Regions from separate parts of the Homo sapiens genome. Here all the other regions are linked to region 2. The links are contacts of gene promoters, found by promoter capture Hi-C in blood cells and fetal thymus (Javierre and others, 2016). All regions are on one chromosome and are shown on one strand. The core of a region is centred on a gene start or on the middle of the fragment in contact, and the rest is flanking DNA. Distances in the headings are between cores, read along the strand shown.

Region 1 (3,641 bases), core at 119-2,618, 400 kb before region 2:
CTCTCAGTTCAGACCCTCTTCATCTCTTCTCTGGCCTTATCCCTTCACCCATTGTCAGACATTTCTTTAAAATGTAAGCTGTCAATTTCTTGCTGAAATTTTTCCAGTGGTTTCCCATTATTACCTCCTGGCATATAATCCAAATTTCTTAATTTGCTGATAAAGCCCTTTACCTGCTAGTTCAATTTCATCTCTTACCATTCTCTGTTAGTGACCCTCTGTACTTCCAGTCTTTGAATGTGAGGTTATTCTCTCTTGATTTTCTATATTTACACATACTATAACCTTGGCATAGTTTTTCTCCCCACTCTTTCAGTGCAAACTCCTATTTGTCCTTTAACACCAAACTTGAGGACCACCTCTTCTAGAATTTTACCTGACCACAATTACTTTAGGTATGCCTTTTCTATCAAGCGTGCATTTATTATGATACTTATAATTCCACATTATAATTTTTTCCATATATGTTCTCCACTAGACAGTGCATTTCTTGAGGGCATAGACTATGTATTTTCATACCTGACCTAACATATAGCCTAGTGTCTGACTTAAGTGTTCTGTCACATGAAAGAATAAACTATTCTGTTCTGTAAATTATTTTTCAGATTCGATACATTTCTCAGACTCAAGGTTTGCCAGGAGAACAGTTGTTAAATGTGGGTACTAAATCCACAAGATTTTTTTGCAAAGAAACAGATATGTCTCATTCTGGTTGGAGATTAAAGGTAATTCATTAAAAAATAGAATATTTAGAAGACTAGTTTTCTAAGATGCCTCATATGCATGGATAATACCTTCCATGTCTATTTACATTTTACTATATTTCTTCCTTTTTTTGAATTTTCATTTTTGGCCCTTCTTTATTTTATTTTATTTTTTTCAATTTTTTTAGTTTTTATTTTTTGAGATGGAGTTTCTCTCTCTCGCCCAGGCTGGAGTGCAGTGGCGCCATCTTGGCTCACTGCAACCTCCGCCTCCTGGGTTCAACCAATTCGCCTGCCTCAGCCTCCCAAGTAGCTGGGACTACAGGCTTGCACCACCATGCCCGGCTAATTTTTATATTTTTGGTAGAGGCAGGGTTTCACCATGTTGGCCAGGCTGGTCTTGAACTCCTGACCTCAAGAGAACTGCCCACCTCCGCCTCCCAACGTGCTAGGATTACAGGCGTGATCCACCATGCCTGGCCCCGTCCTTCTCTCTCTCTTTCTCTTTTTCTTTTTTTGAGACAAAGTCTTGCTCTCTTGCCCAGGCTGGAGCGCAGTGGTGTAATCTCGGCTCACTGCAACCTCCACCTCCCAGGTTCAAGCGATTCTCCTGCCTTAGCCTCCCAAGTAGCTGGGATTACAGGTGCCTGCCACCATGCCTGGCTAATTTTTGTATTTTTAGTAGAGACAGGGTTTCACCATGTTGGCCAGGCTGGTCTTGAACTCCTGACCTTGTGATCCGCCTGCCTTGGCCTCCCAAAGTGCTGGGATTACAGGTGTGAGCCACTGTGCCCAGCCCCCTTCCTTCTTTAAGAAGAAAGCCCTCTTGGAATAACTTCACTAACTCTCTAATTCAGCAACATAATTATTAATTCATCTTAAATTAAAAAAACTTTTATGTGTATAACTACATTTGTGTTGTGTGTTTATCTTCTCAGTTCTACATTATTACACTTTATAGGACAGGGAATGAATCTAACCACTTACTACATATCCCAAGTGTGCTAGGATCTTTGGAGGAATCAGTAAATCCTCAATAATTAACTTCATAAACAGTTATTATTATTATTGTATTTTTTGAGACAGAGTCTTACTCTGTTGCAAGGCTGGAGTGCAGTGGCGCGATCTTGGTTCACTGCAACCTCCGCCTCCCAGGTTCAAGTGATTCTCCTGCCTCAGCCTCCCAAGTAGCTGGGACTACAGGCATGCGCCACCACACGCAGCTGATTTTTGTATTTTTAGTAGAGACGGGGTTTCACCATGTTGACCAGGATGGTCTCGATCTCTTGACCTCGTGATCCACCCGCCTTGGCCTCCCAAAGTGCTGGGATTACAAGCGTGAGCCGCCGTGCCCGGCCTAGTTATTTTCTTTATGGGGTTTGTTACATTTGTAATATTTTTCTTGGCCTAAACCAAGCACTTCTCATTTTTTTTTTGCGTATACTTTAAAAAATACATTTTTGATAGTGTCTCTTTTGAAATTACTATTTGCCTTAGAATATTTAATATATTAGACTAAATGTGCCAGGATTAAAGAAATTTGTAATAATGTATTCTTTTTTCCCTTTGATATATGCAATAAGACATTGGAAGAGCATGAGGCAGAGACAGGAATGAAGTCTAAAGAAGCCAGAAAATACATTTTCAACAGTCTGGATGATGTAGCGCATGTGAGTACCATAGCCACATTTGTTCATCTTACATGCTTAGATGGTAGACTTGAATGCCAAGGGGCCCAAAACATGTTACTCAGTTTTTAAATGGCTACAGAGTCCATGCTGTTTTTAAGTTTTTCAAATGAAACTGATTCTATTTTCAACCTTTCAGGAACTAAATTGCATTTGTCGTTATCAAAATTTTAATTTACCTATTCGTTCTTTAGTAAAAAAGTTTTTGCTTTGAAAGGAAAAATCCTAGCCAACAGATTTCCCTATATTTCATTAGAAATGGATATTTGTTTAATTTTTAAAAACTTCTTTTATGCTTTGAATCCTATTTGGTACCTCAACACATTTTGAGGATTTGTTAATATTATTTGTTCTTCTTTGTTTTAAGATAATTGTAGTTCCCTCTCCTCTCCTGTGTTGTGATTTTTGTTTTATTTTTTAACGGTGGAATTTATACTACTCTCTGTGACTTATTTTTACTTGATGGCTTGAAATTTTGATTTTCTTAGGTGAACACAGTGATGGATTTGGAAGGAAGTGATCTTTTGGCTGAGAAAGCTGATAGAAGAGAATTTGTTAGTCTGTTGAAGAAAATGTTGCTGATTGATGCAGATTTAAGAATTACTCCAGCTGAGACCCTGAACCATCCTTTTGTTAATATGAAACATCTTCTAGATTTCCCTCATAGCAACCAGTATGTTACTTTAAGATCTTTTAAAGTGGTTCTAAAAAAAAATAAGTCTGTAGAAAATGACTGCATCAGAGAAATTACTTTTCTTCATTAAACACAAGTAACCTGAGTCAAAAGAGGCTAAGCTAACTTGACCAAGTTCACATACACCAGTAAGTGTCAGGGAACTAGAACCCAAGTCTGAATTGCAGTCCAGTGTTCCTTCTCCAAAATGCGATACTAAAAATAAGACTGAGTGGTTTTGTTTTTATTATACATGACTTTCTTACCTTAATAACCAGGCATATATAAAAGGAAATGCTAACAGTTTTCTCTTTAAAGTCACATTTCAGTTTTCCTACACTGTAGGTTCTATCATATTTTGAGTCGTGCAACTTCCATTTTACATTTTTTTTTCCCCACAACTTTTGCTTTCCTTTTTCCTCTTTTTCTCCTGCATTTTGAAGAAAAGGAGGTTTTTCATGGGTCAGTAGATCATAGGTCAGTAGGGAAGAATATATACTAAAATTCCAAAGGCCTTAAATATTACAAATTCTTTGTGTTTTGTTTGTTTGTTTGTTTTGGAGACAGGGTCTTGCT
Region 2 (3,462 bases), core at 224-2,723:
CTAAGCCACTCAGCTAATGGGATGTTTTTCTTACAGCTAAGTTCAGCAAACAGTTTCTAGTTTCCACTGTGAAAATACAGAGGCCACAAGTTTTAGGACTGTTTGGCTTGTAGGGGAGGCAGCCTCCCTTTCTGCCTCTCCTTCATAAACTGCCACGTAAATAGCCACATTTTGGCAAACGTTGCCATCTCCCTCAACATTCGGGGCTCTGTGCCTTCTTCAGGGAACTGGGAGTAAACCGCCAGGAGTGGAGAACTTGAACAACTGCTCAGGGATCGCAGGGTACCTGAAATAATTAGCAGCCGCCGCGTTTGTGCTGAGCGCTTTCCGTCAATCATCTCAACCACCCTGTGAAGTGAAGCCTATTGTTTTACCCATCAAGTGCTGTTAAATACTTCCAGAAATGACCAGTGAAGAGCCTGGGTATCACTAAACGGCCATAAAAGGCACACTGCTTAATGTTGGTTTTTTTTGTTTGTTCTTTGTGGGTTTTGTTCGTTTTTGAGGCGGAGTCTCGCTCTTATTGCCCAGGCAGTAGGGCAATGGCGCGATCTCGGCTCACCGCTACCTCAGCCTCCCGGGTTAATGTTGTTTTTTGAAAAGTCAGCAGTCAGACTCTAAGAAGGGTGCGGCCCGAGCCGACCCAAGAAAACAAAACATCACGTTGTACTTAAAACGTCCGTTTCGGCCGGGCGCGGTGGCTCACACCTGTAATCCCAACACTTTGGGAGGCGGAGGCGGGCGGATCACGAGGTCAGGAATTCAAGATCAGCCTGACCAACATGGGAAAACCCCGTTTCTACTAAAAATACAAAATTTAGCCAGGCATGGTGGCGCATGCCTGTAATCCCAGCTACTCAGGAGGCTGTGGCAGGAGAATCGCTTGAACCCGGTACACGGAGGTTGCGGTGAACCCAGATCGCGCCACTGCACTCCAGCCTGGGCAACAGCGAAACTCCATCTCAAAAAAAAAAAAAAGTCCGTTTCGCCCGACACCTGCTTTTCAAAATTACACATTTAGACCGCGAGGGGAGAGAGGAACTGCCGTGACCACGGAGGGCTGGCCTTTCCCCCGGCGCAGTTTCTCTGGACCGCTAGAGCTTCCCTTGAGACGAAAGCGATGGCAGGGGCCCGGGTGCGAGGCTGCCCCCGAGGGAATGGGGGGCGCGACGGGGGTAACGGGGCTGCTTCTGGGAGAGGGCGCGCTCCCCGTTTCTCCTTCCTCGTAGATAAAATGAAGCCAGCGTTCGGCTAGGACACCGGGCCGCGGTGACGGGTTGGAAGGGCCAGGCCTCGGGAGGCTCGCCCGGCAGGGGTCGAGTGGAAAGCGAGGACGGGGGTAGCCCCCACAGACCCTCCGCCCGGGCCCAGACTGCCGCCGCCACCTCGGCTCGGCTCACCCAAACCCCAGCAGGCCTTCGGGCCTTCTTACCTGGCGGCGCCCAAGATCCTCTTCCAGCCTCGAGCCGCTTCTGCGCTCAGCCCCCGCATTCTTTCGCTCCAGCCCGCAAGGCTCCGCCCCCCGGCCCCGCCCCTCAGGATGCCCTTGCCCTCCCAGGCTCCCGGCTCCCGCACCGCGCAGCCGCACCTCGGCAGGAACCTCCTCCTCTCCCTCCACCCCCGCGCGGAGCTCAGCCTCCTGGCCCAGGTTCTGAGAAGGCCGGGTGGCCAGGACCCAATGAGCACCTTCAAAACCCCAGGGAACTGAAAGTTTGGGGCGTCCTCCTCGGATTTGCTATGGGACATAAAAACAGTAGGAAACTTCCAAAGACTTCTGATTTTCCCTTTTACTTTTTTTTTAAGTATATTAAAATGTTTTTCAAAACGTTTCTGTGCGTCTTGCTGGTGCCCTGGGTGCCCCAGGGCCTGGCTATCGGGCTATGCGGCCCTGCTGCAGTCTGAAGCTGCTTCCTACTGCGAGGCTTGGGCAGCATCCAAATAGCCATCAGCCACAGCCGCATCCGTATCCGTGCCTTGTGACTTGTTTGAGACCCAAACAAAATGTTATGCGTTTAAAAGCTTACTGGGCTGCTCGGGGACCAGTGTTTTGAATGAACCTCTTCGAGTGTCTCTATCAACTTAGCTGGTAGCTACTGTTCCCCAGCAGCCACCAGAGGCAGGGACAGAAGAGCAAGACCAGGGGATCCGCCTGCATGAGTCTGTCCCTTCAGGGTGGCCTCGCCTCAGGGACTGGATTGTAGGCATGGTTTCAATAACACAGCGGTGTGAAAGTTTAAGAGTTTTTAGTACTTACGGACCCTGGGTGGTACACAGCTTGCCTAGAGGACACACACACACACACACACACACACACACACACACACACGGAGATCAGGGAGAACAGGGAGAGGGAAGGGAGGAACGGACCTTTGGGCCAGCAACTTTATCCAGTTAGGTTTCCTCTGGAGAGCTCTAACTGGTGGATTTAAAAGCAAGCAGGTGAAAAGGCAGAGGTGGGAGGAACTTGAACCAGAGTTTGAAGCTGCAGTAGTGCCCTGTTATCACATCACTGCATGTTTATCTCTGGCCACCAGCTAGAGCCATTTGCGTGGGGTATAGTACTGGAAACTGTCAATGGTGACTGAGACTTGCTTCTGTTATTAAAAGTTAAACATATTCAAAAATGGATGCTGAGGTAACAAAAAATTATAAGCACTCACCAGAACCGCAACCACCATTTGGAACATTAGTTTTATGTGCAGATGTAATTAGAAGTTTCCATTTGCTATTATATTTGGAAAGTGTCCCACTCACTGCAGAACTGACTGTAAGAACGCCATAGGAGGGAGGGTGGGGCTACAGGCCAAAAGTACAAGTCTTCCTCCAAGAGGATGGCCTCTGTTAGAAAGCATGAGACACACTTTGAGGGTCAGGGTGAGAAGATATTACATCTCAGGGCTGCTTGTGTTGAACTGGTCAGGGAAGAAGGCATGAGATAAAATTTAAGCAGGGGGAATCATAGATTACTGAATGTCTTGCAGGGAAAATCATATAGTAACTGTCTTGACGCTTCTACTGTTATTCTGATGGCTTTGGGATGTCAGGGAATGAGTTCCATTTGGTGGTGCTCAAATCCTGGTATTCCTCTATACAAGTGGGAGTTTTTTAAATCAGGATGACTTGCTTTGATATTTAAAGCATGTCTCCTTAAAACAGCTAATACTGTATATTTCCCAAGATGGATTCCAAAGCTCTTTTGTGTACATACCTTACACACATCCTGTTAGCTATTCCTTCCTTGACACGCTTGGCTTCTGAGATGCCACTCTCTCCTAGTTTGGTTCCCTAGAATGGTTTCTTGACCATTCGGTCTTGAGATTCTTTTCCTTTACCCACTAATAATTTGGTGTCCCAGGATTAGACTGAGAACCATGGCTGTGTGTGCTCCCTGGGAGACTATAGTGTATCTACTCTTTTACCTTGGGATGTATGTTTGCAGATGATTCAAAAGTCTGTCTCCAT
Region 3 (3,573 bases), core at 380-2,879, 350 kb before region 2:
ACCTCTGTCCCTAGTAATGAATGCCGTTCCCCTGTCACTTGCCTTTTTATTTACCAGGTGTCAACAGCAAACCCAAGAAGGCTGAAGAAAAATGGGAAGTGTGAGAAGAAAATGTGTTGAAATTGACAGTGTGGCTTATAAGTTCTTGTTGAAAAGGGATGAATAAAAATATCTCTAGATTTGTATCCTTCATTGTCCGTTAAGAAGTCTTTGTTTTGAAAAGAATGGGAGGATCAGTCTTTGGAGCATTATTTTGAACATAATTAAGCTGGGTGAAAGTGTATTAAAAAATCAGCATCCTAGAACTGTCTTTGGCAGTTTCCTGTTATTATCTTATTAATACTGGAGATGAACGTATGAATCAAGCTGGTGAACCCTACGGAAACTGAACCTTTTTTTCCAGTTGGATGGGGAATATTTCTCTAGTCTCTAGTCCAGCAATAAACACATTTTAAACAAGTGTTTTCCATTCTTGTGACCAATGTAATATCTTTTCTTTTCCCTGCAGAGACAACAGTCTCCAGAGTTTGGTACAACAGTTCACGGTTGTCGAAGCTTTCAGTTTCTTTTCCTATTTGAATCTCACACTACTCTAAGAGAGGGTTGAGAAAGTGATTTGCTAAAGGTCACACATTGGTCCAGGGATTTGCACATTATTCTGTGATTCAGGGGACAGATCACCTAGCTACACAACTAAAACTAGCTCCAGTATGGGGCCTCAGGCCATGGGGGAATCCCAGGTGACATATTCGTAATAGGAATGAAATATAACCAGGCCACGTGGATGCTATAATTAATTGATAGAAATAACAGCTAATACTTTTGAGCATTTACTGTTTGTATCAGTTCATTTGATTCTCATACCAACCCTATGAAGTAGGTTCTGCAATTATCCCCATGTTTCAGAAGAGAGAACTGAGGCACAGAATAACTTAACAGTAACTGGTTCAGTGTCTCCCAGTTAACTGGCAGAGTAGAGATTGGAACCCAGGCAGTTCGATTCCAGAGCCCACACTCTGCTTCATGATATTGCCCTCCAGGATATTAAGAGGCTAAGGTTACTGGCTGTGCATCTCCTGGGCCCAGTGCCTCTTCTTCCTATGGCCCAGTTCATCCTTCTGCCTCTTTCTGGAGACTGGCTTTTTCTGCTTCCCCATAGCTTCTTGGTTCCCCTGACAATAAACCTTGCACGGGGCTTTTCACTTGCTGTGGTGCTCACTGCAGCCAGAGTGGGCAAGCCTCTTTAGTTTAAACGCCCACCATCAAGACTCTGCCCCAGTTCCACATTCCCATGAGGGAGAATCAAGCTGCTGCAATCTGGCCAATGGAATTAGGGAAACTACCTCTCATCCATTCAGCAGAGGCCAGAGGAGAAGGGGCACATGGTATAAAAATGCCTTCTTAGCCTGATCCCCCTTTCACCATGGCCTTGGTAGAGGTCAGTTTTAAATGTCAGTTTGGAGGGCAAACTTCTGAACATTTGTCTCCTCCTTCGTAGCAGTAAAAGACAACTTCACATGTTGGTAAGCTTGTTCTATGGAAGATAACAATGACAGGTGGCCTGCTTGATAGTGTTGGCCAATTTTCCTTGTATAAATACTCCCACCATGGCTGATTTCAAGCTACTAACATGATAATGGAGTTGGGAAGTGATGCCTCAACTGGCTCAGCTCTGATGTGACCTGGCCCTGGCACACCAATGCTCCTATCCATATATGGGCTAGAGGAAGGGAAGCTTCCACAGTAGGTGCACGATGTCTCCAAGGACTTTGAAACCTAGGCTTCACAGGCCAGTCAACTAGTTGCATTTGTAATTATGTAAAAGGGAATAAGATTTCAAGGTAGAGAGGATGGGAGTCAGATTTGCTGCGTGGTCTAAAACAGCTTCAAATACTGTGTATAGTCCCAATGGTACAACCTAGTAGGCACTCAGCGATGCTTTATAAAAAATTGCAATTTCCTTTGATTATGGTGTCTCACTTGTGACATATAATTAACCCTTTCACTGAATTTAAGACGTCAGACCTAATTTTCTTGAATGAGCATTGGTTTGGTTTTCTGGCACGGAAAGGTGAAATTTTTCTTTGCTTCCAGATGTCAGCAGCTCCTCCTCCTTTGCTGTCATCATGTCATCATGTTTCAAACCTAGGGATGCGGAGTCCACGTGGTACCCTAGTAGATGTCTTTTAGTTGGATACACATTATTAGTCTCAATTGGAGGCTTTTATTTATGATCATAAGGCCATCTCTCAGTTCATGTAATTATGCTAAAAGCCAAGACAGTCATGTGACTGCCACTTCCGACGGCGTGTCTGGTGCTTTAACAGATCTCAAGGCCTGTCTGATTGGCTCTTTTCATTTGCACATCTGAGAAGGAGACTGGGAGTCTTGGCTTCAGTGTGCTGCTTAAGATGCTGCCGACATTCCCCATCTTTCCTCCTGATGTGATGATGTTGCTAACCTTGGCCAGCTCTCACAACGGGTCGTGTTGGTCACTGGGAGATGCAGGGAGGAAGTGTCAACAGTGTGGATCTCTCACCCTCCTTAGACATGGAACTCCCAGTGTCCTACTGATGGAAGGTCAGTGTCTTTACCTATAAAAATAGCACAATTAATTTATTCTTTTAATTTCCCATGGGGCATAGCAAGAGAAAAATTTTTACAAGATTCTTCTTTCACATTTTATTGAAGATTTGTCCTAGTTTGTGAATATGTAGACTTCTGAATAAGAAGACTAACATTTATGAGACAGCTATTATTGTGTTAGTCACTGGATCAAGGGTTTAATCTTATTGAGTCCCCATGACGATGACACTGTCAGATAGTTCTTGCCCATTTTGCTTGGAGGAAGTTGAGATTGAGAGAACATGTAAAAACCAACTGGCCTAAGGGCACATTGCTTGTAAGTAGTGGAGCTGGGATTTGAAACTAGATCTGATTACAATGTAAATATATTATCAGTTATACAGTGCAGTCCTTCCCTGCCCACCCAACATTTTATGAAGTTGTCAAACACACGGAAAAGTAGAAAGAACAATATAGTAAACACCCCTATATCTACCATCTAAATGGTGCAATTAACATTTTGCTTTATCATATATCTGTCTGTCCCACTATCCATCAATTCATCTTATTTTTGATGTATTCAGAGTAAGTTGCAGACATCAGTACATGTCACCCCTAAATACTTTCGCATACATGTCATTGATTAGGGTTCAGTATTTGTTTATGACTCTTTTTCTGAGGTAAATTTTACATACAATGAAATACAAAACTCTTGAGTACATTTTCTTGAGTTTTTACAAATGTATACACCTGTGTATCCCAAATCCCTGTCAAGATATAGCATGTGACCATGACCCCAAAAAGTAAGTTTTCTTTTGCCCTTCTGCAGACATTCCCATCTCTTCTCACTCGCCCCACCCAATCCAAGCAACCATGGTTTGATTTTGTTTTTCACCATAGTTTAGTTTTTATATCACGCAGTTAAAAAACAACCAGATTGCCAGTTTTCTTTGTTCTGCAGCAAAAGATAAAAGTGAGTATCTATCCTGCGTGTCTTGAACTCCCGGG

Evidence for each region. Contacts are between HindIII fragments. The CHiCAGO score rates a contact against its expected background, and 5 or more counts as called.
Region 1: a contact is called between a fragment that was not itself captured here and the fragment with the promoter of CD59 in region 2, in 3 of 17 cell types (M0 macrophages, total B cells and monocytes). The highest score is 6.8, in M0 macrophages.
Region 3: a fragment that was not itself captured here is called in contact with the fragment with the promoter of CD59 in region 2 in 2 of 17 cell types (total B cells and naive B cells); the score reaches 6.5 in total B cells.

The regions. Positions count from the first base shown.
Region 1 is chr11:33,336,470-33,340,110 of GRCh38, forward strand. HIPK3 (homeodomain interacting protein kinase 3) reads left to right here. Exons shown (of 17, transcript NM_005734.5): 4 at 606-725; 5 at 2,288-2,374; 6 at 2,881-3,065. Among named protein-coding and RNA genes, the nearest start is that of KIAA1549L, 38 kb to the right of the region's middle. The HindIII fragment of the contact is 6,169 bases long and covers 1-3,641 here.
Region 2 is chr11:33,734,950-33,738,411 of GRCh38, forward strand. It overlaps CD59 (CD59 molecule (CD59 blood group)), which reads right to left and starts at 1,474. Exons shown (of 4, transcript NM_000611.6): 1 at 1,433-1,474. RefSeq lists a silencer at 1,123-1,592. The HindIII fragment of the contact is 13,854 bases long and covers 1-2,017 here.
Region 3 is chr11:33,389,224-33,392,796 of GRCh38, forward strand. All of the region lies in intron 1 of KIAA1549L (KIAA1549 like), which reads left to right. Among named protein-coding and RNA genes, the nearest start is that of KIAA1549L, 15 kb to the left of the region's middle. The HindIII fragment of the contact is 207 bases long and covers 1,527-1,733 here.